Linked DNA regions of Homo sapiens: region 2 is linked to region 1. Evidence: promoter capture Hi-C in 16 types of primary human blood cells and fetal thymus (Javierre and others, 2016). All regions are on one chromosome and are shown on one strand. Each heading gives the region's core, a stretch centred on a gene start or on the middle of the fragment in contact. The rest is flanking DNA. Distances are from core to core; before and after follow the strand shown. Region 1 holds the start of APP (amyloid beta precursor protein). Region 2 has its middle 150 kb from the start of HEMK2.

Evidence for each region. The method cuts DNA at HindIII sites, captures the fragments that hold promoters and counts their contacts. A CHiCAGO score of 5 or more calls a contact.
Region 2: a fragment that was not itself captured here is called in contact with the fragment with the promoter of APP in region 1 in 1 of 17 cell types (non-activated CD4 T cells); the score reaches 6.7 in non-activated CD4 T cells.

What each region holds. Positions count from the first base shown.
Region 1 is chr21:26,166,672-26,173,206 of GRCh38, forward strand. It overlaps APP (amyloid beta precursor protein), which reads right to left and starts at 4,099. Exons shown (of 18, transcript NM_000484.4): 1 at 3,893-4,099. The coding sequence starts at 3,949. It overlaps APP-DT (APP divergent transcript), which reads left to right and starts at 4,196. Exons shown (of 4, transcript NR_186396.1): 1 at 4,196-4,381. RefSeq lists enhancers at 2,602-2,811, 3,310-3,834 and silencers at 2,852-3,121, 3,622-4,451. The HindIII fragment of the contact is 2,642 bases long and covers 1,943-4,584 here.
Region 2 is chr21:28,735,726-28,742,260 of GRCh38, forward strand. It overlaps a transcript of HEMK2 not described here. Among named protein-coding and RNA genes, the nearest start is that of HEMK2, 150 kb to the right of the region's middle. The HindIII fragment of the contact is 2,967 bases long and covers 1,936-4,902 here.

The sequences.
Region 1 (6,535 bases), core at 2,849-5,348:
ACAAAAACAAAACACAAACAGAAAATGTGATTTTTCCCTATCCTCCTCGTTGCCACTGTTCATCTCATACTCTGCCCATCAAGATGCTACTGAAGCTCTCTGGTCCTGCATTCAGCCCCTTACCTTTGACCTCTCAACTCCTTATTTCAAATTCCCTACTCCTGTTGAGAATACCCTGCACCAGCATCTGTCACTCAAGTGAGAGAGAGAGAGAGAGAGAGAGAGAGAGAGAGAAAGAGAGAGAAAGAGACAGAGGGTGTGTGTGTGTGTGTGTGTGTGTGTCTGTCTGTCTGTCTGGTAGAGGCAGAGAGGAATGTAAACAAATATTGTATATGCAGAAACTTAACCTCCAATCCCCAGACCTGGGATATAAACCTGGCTGGAAATTTACTACCAGGAAATGCTCCAGGATTATCTATGATCTCATCCCATTGTTCCTTACTTTTTAAATACAGGAAGTTTTCTCTGTAACATATTTACTCAGTATACCTAATCTGTATTTTCCTTTTGGTATTTTAGTACATTCCACTTTGTTTTATTATCATGTGCATGTTTTATTTACCCTGCAAACTTCCTGGGAGTAAGGGGAGGGAGGAGGGAAGGGGAGGTAATGAGGTATGCAGTCGAACTAAACCTTACATTCTGGAAGCTTTAAATTTAAAATGCATCTGTACAGGTTTATCTTTACATTTGTAATTGATAGAGATTTTAAAAGAAATGTATTAATGAAAGATGCTTTGTAAGATTCTCAAGGTAATACAATTTGCAGAAACAATGTACATTTCTACTGAATTTAATGCACTTCTCACTGATAGTTTAGTGGCCACGTGAAATGCAAGTAATAGCTATGCTTATTTCCAGAATGACTGACAACATTCATACAAATATCTGTAGAAGACTCTAGTATGCAAAAAACAGTAACATAAAATAGAGATCCTCTAGCAACAAGACTTAACATAAAGACAACCTCTCCCATTCCTTCAAACCAATATTGTTGATCACGTTATTTCTTTTTAATTTTTTTGAATCAGCCATTCCTCATTTAACCTCGTGAACTTGCATGTTCCTTTTCATTTCCTCAGTCAGGACCAGTATTATTCCATCTAGTAACTTCTCCGCAGTACTAATAGCCTTGCAAATGTCGTTCAGGAGCCTCTGCTGGTTCCGGTGACAAGAGAAAAGCTTCTGCAGTCTGCCAGTTATCATGGTTTCTCATCGATTAGCAAGAACCGTGACTCCTTACAGATCACCATCAAACCTGAGCTTTACTATTCTGTGTGTCGGCTTCTACCTTTAGCGAGGTACTAGTCAGTAGCAGCAGGTTTCCATAAACTATAAATTAGCACTACCACAAAGGTAAGATGATTGTGACTAGGTTAAACCCTCAACAGAGGGAAATAAAACTTAAGAGGAAGCTAGATTTAAAAATAAATAAATAAATAAATATTAGGGTAGTGAAACATCATATAGATTAGGGTTTGTTAAACTCACACCTCTATCAACATACCAGCCAAAATCATCAACCCAGATAATAACCATGTTTCCCCCGATAGCCAAGGCCCCATTATCATTGCCCTTATTCATTTCTTTTCTACAGCCACCTGCAGCAGACCTATTTTCTAAGCTCTATAAAAGACAGTCAACTCGTAATTACATCTTTTCAGTGGACACAGAGAGAACCAGATAAACCACCCTCAAACCTCAGTAGACTGAATTACCTACCCTTCTACCAACACTTCGCAAAATGGCATAATGTGAATCTCACCTCCACCCTTTAAAGGAGTTAACAATAGCTACTGAAAAGGTCCCAAAAGATGGCAGAAAGAGCATATTAATGCAATTAAACAGACCAAAAACTAAATTCGAATCTGCCTACATGCTTCCTCTTTTTATACAGAAAGAAATATTGCTCAACAAAGTTACATATTTAAGTTTTGACAAAAGCTTCAAAAATACGGTTATCATATGCTTTTAATTCCTTAAATGTATGGTTTTTAATCTGTAGTAAGACCATTCGGGAAAACTGGAATAATTCTACAAATAAATGTAAGTAAGTCATGAGAGAAATCAGAATTCTCTTAGTTAAGTGCATTTTTTTAAAACATGGAAAACGAAATTCTTTAACTCTTAAAACAACCTGTCTTAACTAGCCCTAAGGTGATTCCTGAGCCACTTGTGGGTAAAAATCAGAAGAGAAAAAAGTTCAATGACCTTGCAAATTAGAAACTAAAAAACTAATGGTGTGATAGTCTGTACAGCCTCAGTGGAATTACAGGAAAACATCTGCCCGGAAATTGCTTTTTTTCTTTTGGAAAATTACTAGGAGGCTGGGGGAAAAGAGGGGAAAAACGGGTAAGGAAGGTTGCAAATGTTAAGATGCCAAACAGGAACCCAACCGAAGTCCGAAGTGAAATACAGCCTCCTCTGGCCCAACTGTCATGCAAACAACTTCTAAGCATCTTCAGATGTAAAGAAAAACAGTCATTGTGCACAGGCGTTAGCTGAATGTTCGAGAGTTGGATGAATGGGGAAGACTTGTTATACACCTAGTGGTGGGTGGATTTCACTAGGCTGCAGCCTCCACACAGCTTTTCTTTGCTGCACTGCAGAGGCGCCATCTTCTCCGTCTTAATCTTCACTCAATTCGATCCTTTTATCTGCACCCTAAAAAAAAGACCCTTCGGACCCTCCCCAGCATCCTGTGCCCCCAGGGGAACTAAACCAGAGTCCCCAGAGCTGCCAGGGAAGAGGCCGCGCCTTAATCAGACAAACGCCTCCTTGGATGCACAGGACAGAGCCCGTGCCTCCCCACCATCCGCCACTGCCCTTTCCAGACGCACATCCCACTCTCCGCCTTATTTCCTCCCCGCCAAGGACTTTACAGCCCAGCACAGAATTAAGCCTCGGAGGTGATCCGAGGGTGGGAAGCAGAGGGGCCCCGAGGCTCCGCCAGAAGCCCCGGCAGCGTCTCTGCCCCCTCCCAGGCGGACGCGCAGCCCCGGGAAGGGAGCCGGGCGGGAGCCTCGGTGGCGCACTGAGACTAACGCGGCTCGGCCCACGGCGAGGGCGGGGTGTCGCGGCTTTTGTTCCCGCGGACCTTCTGCCTCTCAGACAGAGCTTAGGGTGCGAGCGAACTCCCGGGACGTCCAGACTTGGGGAAGGCGCGGGGTGGCTATGGGTCTCCGACCCCTCCCATTTCTCGCAAGTTACACAAAAGGGAGACGCGGACATGCACAAAGTTTGCCTGTGGAAGGCGGTGCGCGACCCCGACGCCGGCTCGGGCTAGGGTCGCACCCAGGCTGCCGCCGCCAGCAGCCGCGAAAAGAGGTTGGAGCAAGGAAGGGGGATGGGGGTGAGAGAGGAAGGTGAAACGAGGCGGAGAACGCAGGGAAAAGCGAGGGGCTCCTAGCTTCCTGGGCTGTCCCGACTCCTCCTCCTCCTCCCCAGGGCCCAAGAGAAAGGAAAGGGCAACGATTCAAGAGCGAAGGACTGGCTTTAGGGACGCTGCGTTTTCGGTTTTCCCCACGTGCTCCTTCCCCCTTCCCCCCTGTCTGAATGTCTCTCGCCTCCCCCGACCCCCGCTTCCAAGGCAGGGACTAAGTCGGGGTCTGGGCTCAGGGTCGCCCCCTACCCTTCTCGCCCCGGGCTGGCGCGGAACCAGGGAGACCAGCGCCTCGCCCGCTCCCTCTCAGCGGGCCGGAGCGCGACTCCCTGGGGCAGGGCTGGGCCGAAAGCGGGGATGCGCTGGACGTCCGCAAGCGGGGGCGGAGAGGAGAGGGGTCCCATTGACGGACCCCCGGCTTCTCTGCATTAAAGACTTGGGTTAAGGTCTTGGGGGGTATCGCGTCCCCACCGTGCAGCCTCCCCCCGCCTTCCGAGGCGCGGCACCCACCTCCAGCGCCCGAGCCGTCCAGGCGGCCAGCAGGAGCAGTGCCAAACCGGGCAGCATCGCGACCCTGCGCGGGGCACCGAGTGCGCTGCTGTGCGAGTGGGATCCGCCGCGTCCTTGCTCTGCCCGCGCCGCCACCGCCGCCGTCTCCCGGGGCCCCCGCGCACGCTCCTCCGCGTGCTCTCGCCTACCGCTGCCGAGGAAACTGACGGAGCCCGAGCGCGGCGGCGGGGCTCAGAGCCAGGCGAGTCAGCTGATCCGGCCCACCCCGCTCGGCACCCGAGAGAGACCCCTAGCGGCGCCGCCGGGGAACTGCGCCCGCTCGCGCCGGGAGGGGCCCTCGCGCCCCGCGCCCACAGGTGCACGCGCCCTTGGCGCCGCCTGCACCCCACGCGCCCCCTCCGCTCCCCGGCCGACGGCCCACCTGGGCTTCGTGAACAGTGGGAGGGAGAGTCTGGGGCCAGGAGAGGGACGGTGCAGGATCAGGGAAAGGTGAGTCCTAGGACGCTGAGGCTCTAGAAAAGTCGAGAGCGCTCCTGCTCGTCCCCGTGAGCTTGAATCATCCGACCCCGCAGGCCTCCCGGGGGTGTCGTATAAAGGACTGCTGCTAGGGTGCGTTTTTATCCGCATTTCGTTTTTTCTCTCGGTTTGGAGAGGTGGGGCAGGCGTTTCTGGAAGAGAATGAGAACGAGTGAAGCTTAAAGGAAATAGGATTTTCTTTGCTTGTTGAGACAGCAAAACCTCATTTTTTAACCCCCAACGTCAAAAGCAGGCACGAGCAACCTGGAATTTCTATCTTTAGAACGAACCAAAGGAGCAAGGCGCAGGACCTGGCAAAGAAGCGGCCAACCCATTTACTTCTTCTTGAAAGCAGGGTTCTGGGCTTGGGTTTTGTTTCTTTCTTATATTTTTGTTTGTTTTTGGTTTTGTTTTGTTAAAGGGGGTGGTCAGTGTGGATTTTGCGGGGCGGGGGGTCTTTTTTTGTTGTTAAGCAGGGATGTAACATCCATCTGAGTTGGGGAAGAAGGAAAAATTAGGAGAGATCATTCGTATTCGACCCCCGTAAATGAGGACTTCTGACCTCAAACGCTGCCCTTGTTCTTCATTGTGTCTGTCCTGAATTATAGAAATGAACCTTCTGCCATGCCACTTTCTCCTGGATTAAACACAAACCGTCCACTGTCCAGTTAGTGTCCAGATAGTTTAGAATGCTCTAGAACTGCCCAGATATATCCCCTGCTCTTGACCTGAAGTAGCATTTAGTTACCAAGCCACAGCCCACTCCACACAGGGCTTGGAGCGAAGGACTGAAGCCAGGGAGTGCTCTGGCCCTTCTGAGGGCTGCACTGCAGCCTGCCTTCTCTCCCTTGCTCATTGCGCTGACAAGGGTGCCTAGGCCCGGGAAGGATGGCTCAGCCAGCGGGGTACAGACTTCCTTCCTGGGAAGTCATTTCTGTACCAGCTCCCCTAAATGTTGTCTTGTGTGTCTTTTCCCGCACTAGGCATTCAGTCTTGACTCTTGGATTACTTTTGCCCCTGAATGTCCTTTGGATGTCCTCAACAAATAAGGACAAATATTTATTGTCATGCAGTATTTGTTTATACGCTTCATGTCATTTACTTCCTACAAAAGCCAAAGAGGCTGTTACTATTATTCCTATTTATACATCAGGAAAATGAAGCTAATGAACTCCCAAATCTAATAGCAAGTAAGTGACATGAAGCTGGGACAGCAGGGAAAAGCCTAAAGTGACAGGACAAACCCAGTTGTTCACTTTCTGCACCACATTTACCCACCGCAATTCCGTATTTGTTCCGGGTCTGCATGAGCAAATAAGGCAAAAAAGAAGGTATCTGAATGCAAAGAGAAACGTGGTCCAAAGCTACAAATCTTGCAGAGTCCACTGCAAAATGCAAACGTGAGACCCTTTGTTACATTATTAAGAATTTTAAGGCCGGGCCTGGTGGCTCATGCCTGTAATCCCAGCACTTTAGGAGGCCCAGGTGGGCAGATCACCTGAGGTCAGGAGTTCTAGACCAGCCTGGCCAACATGGTGAAACCCCCATCTCTACTAAAAATGCAAAAATTAGCCGAGCGTGGTTACTCCTGCCTGTAATCCCAGCTACTCCAGAGGCTGAGGCAGGAGAATCGCTTGAACCTGGGAGGCGGAGGTTGCAGTGAGCCAAGATTGTGCCATTGCACTCCAGCCTGGGCGACAGAGCGAGACTCCACCTCAAAAAAAAGAAAAAAAATTAAATTAAGAATTTTAAGATGGCAATGGCAGAGCGTTAAACCAAGCATGGGGCTCCTCCCACCGCAGGGCCTGTGAGACTCTCCAGGGTTGCATGCCCATGAAGCCAGCCCTGGGAAGGAGGAGGCAACTTTAAGAGTGAGGGACTTTTCTTTGGGAGGCTGAGGCGGGCGGATCACGAGGTCAGGAGATCAACACCATCCTGGCTAACACGGTGAAACCCCGTCTCTACTAAAAATACAAAAAATTAGCCGGGCGTCGTGGCGGGCGCCTGTAGTCCCAGCTACTGGGGAGGCTGAGGCAGGAGAATGGCGTGAACCCGGGAGGCTGAGCTTGAAGTGAGCCGAGATCGCGCCACTGCACTCCAGCCTGGGCGACAGAGCGAGACTCCGTC
Region 2 (6,535 bases), core at 2,169-4,668, 2.6 Mb after region 1:
AAGAACTCATGTGATGAGGTCAGGTCTACCCAGATAACCTCCCTATCTTATGCTCAACGGATTTGGAAAGTTGGTTATATCTGCAAAATCTCTTTTGCTATATAACATAACATAATGACAAGAGTAATAGCTCATCATATTCACAAGTGCCAACCACAGTGAAGGCAAGGAGATTACACAAGAGTAAGGGTCATGGTGGAATTCAGCCTCCTGCGGAAGCCTGGGCTTGACCGGCTCATTGGCCCTTCTACCCCATACTAAAAACTAAAGCAGATCAGCCCAAATTTAAATGGTGGGAAAACAGATTCTACCTTTTGATGGAAGGAGCTACAAGGGCACATTACAAGGAGGGTAGACACAAGGAAGGGGTATAGATCGACACCAGATTTTGCAATCTACTACAGACAGGATATATGAGACTTAAAAAATCCAGGCAGCTCAATGCCTTATGATAGCTCTTGCTGCAACAAGGTGGCCTGCAGAGAGAGCCCACTTCTAGTTATTAGGATGAGAATATGGAAGGACAAGCAAGAAATGTCAGGCCCACACTGTCCGTGAAGTAGGATAACCCACCTCTATTTCCTAGCTGCTCCACCTCACAAAGCCTAGCTATCTTTGCCTCCTGCTCCTTCATTAGTGCAATGGAACAGCAAATCAGGATACTTTCACAGTTCTCTTAAGTGAGCCTAGAAGTGGGGAGCTGCTTGTTCACAAACTTGAAGCCTGAATATGTTAATATTCTTTCAGTGGCCGGACGCGGTGGCTCATGCCTGTAATCCCAACACTTTGGGAGGCCGAGGTAGGCAGATCAACCTGAAGTCAGGAGTTCGAGGCCAGCCTGGCCAACATGGTGAAACCCCACCTGTTGGTCTGTACTAAAAATAGAAAAATTAGCTGGGCATGGTGGCGCATGCCTGTAATCCCAGCTACTCAGGAGGCTGTGGCAGAAGAATCGCCTGCACCTGGGAGGCAGAGGTTGCTTTGAGTTGATATCGTGTCACTGCACTCCAGCCTGGGCAACAGAGTGAGATCCTTTCAGAAACCTGCTGTCTGTATTTGGATACAATTAAAAAAAAAAAAAAGATGAGACAGGCAGGTGCGAAAGAAATAAAAGTCACAACTGATCCAGTTGGGAAACTCAGAATTGACAGTTACGTGTCCTTTCATTTATTGATATTTTGAGATTCACAGGGGTTTAAACTTTATTCTTCCAAGACTGAATAGTTCCCACCTCCCTTCCATATATAAAATTTGAGTAGCTGGGGAGATTTAAAAGAGGCTCCCCATAAACTCAGAAGTTAAAAGAGACAAGGGTCCCAGTAAATACAAAATGATTGGGGTTGAGGAGGCAGATTTTCTGTCCTCAGTGAAGTTTGTTGGTTGGTTGGTTGGTTGGTTGGTTAATTGGTTGGTTTTTGAGTCAGGGTCTCACTTTGTCACCCAAGCTGGAGTGCAGTGGTACAATCTCAGCTCACTGAAGCCTCTGCTTCCAGAGTTTAAGCGATTCTTGGGCCTCGGCCCCCCAAGTAGCTGGGACTACAAGTGTGAACCACCCCACCGAGGTAAGTTTTGTATTTTTAGTAGAGATGGGGTTTCACCATATTGGCCAGAGTGGTCTTGAACTCCTGGCCTCAAGTGATCTGCCCACCTCAGCCTCCCAAAGTTCTGGGATTACAGTCATGAGCCACCACGCCCAATCCCTCAGTGGAGTTTTATCCACTTATTATAAAATGTTTTTGAGGCTTTAGAGGCAGAGCCAGAGAAAACGAGAATTCAAAAATCTGCCTTTTTTTCTTTAGAAGTGTTGAAATCATGGCCTACTTGTGTTTTAATGGGTTTTCAGAGCTTAATTAGTCCATAGACTGTTAAAAAAAAAAAGAAGAAGAAAAGATGAGCTGCTCTATGATTCCCCAGCTGCCTTAGAAATGTGCACCAAGCTTACGATGAAAATTTGTAAGGAACATATATTTATTTTAAGGATTCTCAAGAGCTCTGGAGAACTGTGCCTTTCTCTACATACATCACTTCACTGCTCTCATATCTCAGTTAAGTGAGCTAAATTCACCAAGCCCTGCTTAACTTCACAAGCCAGGTCTGCCAGAACTCTGGGAGGTGTCCATTGCTGATTGGCAGCTAGCCAGTAATATACACAAAGAATGCAAGGATGAGAGGATGACCTACGAAGTAAAGAATCATGTTCAGGGAGAAACACAGGAAGGGGCAGGTTGGGAGCAAACACTGAAAAGCCAATTGCACTGTGTTTTCATTTGTTTGGAGAGGGCATTATGGGAGGGCTGGAGGATTGTTTCTTAGCTTCTTCCAACAACAGTTAGATAATTGCTGCAAGTGGAGAGCTCAGAATAGCAACAATTTGCCGACACATGAGGGCCCCTCTTTACATGTTCATCTTTTTGGTCACCTTCCACTTATGTATGTGTTATTGAAGTAGCAATGGACACTTTGAACTTTCTTTCTCAGAAAGCTATTAGCTTAGCTGGTGTTCTGTATTATTTCCACATTTAAGCAATAAAGCAGTGTTTCTTTGTAAAAATCTGACTTTTTTCAGTTAAGTTTGTTGCCAGATCTCCCAAAAAGACAGCTGAAGTCTATTACATATGTTGATCGCTATTATTGGGAGAAGGTGTTGGCAACCTTTTGAGTGGGCTGTGATGTTGCCAATGTGTTTTTCCAACAAGGTAAGGATGAGACAAGATAAAGGGCAAGGAAGGGGGAAAGGGTGCTGATGTGGACACAGAGAACGTCTCCCTCTTGCTGTCCTCCCTCTGCTTTCCATCAAGGTCAAGTGTCTCTTGTAAACACCGGCAGGGACAGTTCAATCTGCCCATCTCTGACACTTGGGTCTCCCTTTCTGTGACCCGGGAAACAGTCCCACGGAGAAGCCAGGACCCTGGGCCTTCTCCCTGGGGGCTCTTTATGCAGGTCACTGCCCCACTCCCTGAACTCCGAAACAACAGAGCTTACGTCCTAGGAAAACCTCCCAGAGATGGCTCTAGTCCCCAACATTTTTGCAATTGCAACATTTCTTATCCTATAATAATACAAAAACTTCCACATTTAAATGCATTCATTCAACAGAGGCCAACTTCAGCACATGCACTTCTGGGGCACTTGTGTTTACAATGGGGACAAAACAAGACAGTTGGTGTCCGTGGGCAGCTTAATCCTAGTCATTTTAATGCATTTTGCTTTCAATTAGCTTTCTCTGAATAATTCTATGACCACATTGAAATTGTGAGTGACATCCTGAAATATACCTACACTGGATCGTAAACCACAGTGAAAAAAATATATAAATATCGCCCTTTCCAGAAGCTCATGTGTACTTAAAATGAAACCAAAAAAACCTAAATTAGGTATTCACAGATACCCTTTTGAGAAATTCGCGAGAGCAGCAAAAGTACATTGACATGCGTATTTCTGACCCCATTTGATGACCTGAAACATTTCCTCCCTCTTCATTTTCTATTGCTGAACCACAGTATTTTCCTGTTTGGCACAGATCAAGAACACAGGTCTTTCTCTTTTTTCGTTTTTCCCACTGAGGCTATGAAATTGGCCATTCAGTTATTATAGTAAGGATTAGTAAGGACATTTCAAACACAACTAATTAAAGAAGTGTTTTCTGAAATTAAGATATTTTTGTTTAATTACATTAGAAGGAACTAAATATAATATGGTATAGATAAAAATAGACAGAATTACTCAGAACTGAGGGAAAAAATAAGTAGTGAGAAAATGTTAATAAGATCTGAATGCCATCTTCGTGGCATTTTTCCCTAAACTTCATCAGTTGGGAGAAAACTAAATCTTCAATATTAAAAACAAGTCTTATGAGCAAAAATTACTGTCCGGTCACCCTCCAGAGCAGGGTGCTGTCTAAACAGAACTTTCTGTGATGATGGAAATGTTCTCTATCTGTACTGTCCCTATAGCCATTAGCCCTAGGTGCCTATTCAAATTTAAATTAACTAAAATTCAATAAAATTAACAATTCTGTTTTTCAGCGACAGTAGCCACATTTTAAGTGCTCAAAAGCAACACATGGCCAGTGTCTACCATATTGGACAGCACAGTTCTAGAAGCCAGGAAAGAAGGTTAAATACACAGTGAAAATACACACCCAAGGTTTTCCAAACATAAGTAGAAATGGGAAATTTTTCCCGAAAGACCTCTATGGAGCATGAGAAGAAAGGTCTACTTTGTATCATCTGGAGGATTTTTTCCTCTTTCCATCAAGTTTCAGCCAATAATTAAAACAAGTTAGCAATATTTTTCATCCCAACACCTTGTGTAAATTCTTGTCTTCCCCCAAAGAGTTCCCTTGATATGCGTTTTACACACCGTCTATAGAAAAAGCACTTTCCAAACACCCAGTGTATGTTTTTCATGTAAATTCACTTTTCTGATCCTTTTAGTATATTTATAATGGAAATTCTCTCTACTTAAAGCCTATCTATATCTTAGCAACCACAGTTTCCAAAGCTATTCCATGAAGCAGGTTTCTCTATTTACTTTTGTCTATTTGTGTAGCCCAGACCACGCAATAAGATTTTCAAACTGGCCAAAACACATGAACATAGACAAAGTCCTTTATTGTGTGGGTAACCCTTTGGAATGTCTTATTCCCTATGAGAGCTGACATAAAGCAGGAATTCAAATGACAGTGGGTCAAAACCTGAGGGCCAACTGCAGATTTCAGCCTACTTTACAGTCCGTTGGCTATCATAGCTTCCATATGGGCAATAGTGATTGTTTATGAATTAATCCATGCAAAATATATCAAATCTAGTTGGAGAGGATTTTTGTGGGAGAGAAAAGGTACCCTTCCTTCACCAGCCTCGGCTTCATGCTAAAGTATTTCACAACTACAGTGTTTTCATAAGCTTAGAATTCAAATGAGGCCAAAAACTATCAAAAGCAACCTGCTATCTTTACCTGACCCAGAAGTTTACAAGATTGAATTCCTAGAAATTATTGGCTTTATTCTTCTGGAGTCTGCTCAAGTCTAGATAGGCAAGAAAGAACCTAACAGATCAATGCCTCTTAAGGGAATTGATCCCTTCTGCCCAACTTCCTGGGCAGAGTGGCCTTGAGTGAACCATATTCAGAATTAGCTCCTGTGGAACCTGACTATGGATAAGTATGTTAATAAATACATTACATTTTTGAAAATTATGTAATGCATTTTTTTGGACACAGGGCACTGTTCATAACTGTATATATGCTTTACCTCTAATACAATTACTACTATAATTTACTTCCTAAGTTGGTTTCTGTTTGGTTAATATACACATGTGTTAGCTCCAAGATAACTGAAGAGCATTTTCATGCTCACCAAGCCAGCTCCAAACCAAGCACAATCCCAAATCTGAACTCTTATTCCTAAAGTCAAATCAAATCAGATGGGTCCCATGGGAAGAAATGAGATATGTCCAGGCCAACATCATGATTAGACCCATCTCCAATGTCACACTCACAAGTCAGTTTCCTAACCCACTCAACCCAACATTTTACCTCCAAAAAAGATGACACAAGATCATGCTTGAAACATATGGGGAAAGCATAAGCATGAAGTTTTAAAAGGCAGGAGAGAGAAAATGTGTGTATTAGGCATTCAAACCTACTACAGAAAGAGGTTTCTTTTTTTAACTTTTATTTTAAGATTTTAAGTTCAGGGATATATGTGCAGGTTTGTTACATAGGTAAACTTGTGTCATGGGGGTTTGTTGTACAGATTATTTCATCACCCAGGTTATTAAGCCTAGTACCCATTGGTTATTTTTCCTGATCCTCTCCCTCCTGCCACCCACAACCCTCCACTAGGCCCCAGCGGGTGTTGTTCCCCTCTATGTGTCTCTGCGTTCTCATCATTTAGCTCCCACTTATAAGTGAGAACATGTGGTATTTGGTTTTCTGTTCCTGTGTTAGTTTGCTAAGGATACTAAGGCCTCTAGCTTCGTCCATGTCCCTGCAAAGGACATGATCTCATTCCTTTTTACGGCAGCATAGTATTCCATGGTGTATATGTACCACATTTTCTATATCCAGTCTATCATTGATGGGCATTTAGGTTGACTCCATGTCTTTGCTATTGTAAATAGTGCTGCAGTGAACACATGTGTGCCTGTGTCTGTATAATAGAATGATATATATTTCTTCCTTTGGGTATATACCTAGTAATGGGATTGCTGGGTCAAATGGTATTTCTGTCTTTAGGTCTTTGAGGAATCACCACAAGAGAGAGCCTTCTTTACAGGGAAAGCAAGCCTGGGTTTGAGGAGGTGACGGCAAACTATCGCTCAGGACCAAATCTGCCACCTGTTTTTGTAAATAAAGTATTGTTGGAACACAGCCATGCCTGTTTGTATATGTATTGTCTATGGCTGCTTTCAGGGTAAAATGGCAGCTTTGAGTAGCTTGGACAGAGACCGTGTAGCCCATAAAGCTGACAATATTTACTATCTGGATGGATCTGTACAGAAGAAGTTTGCTGGCCCCTGGTTTAGAGTTTTAC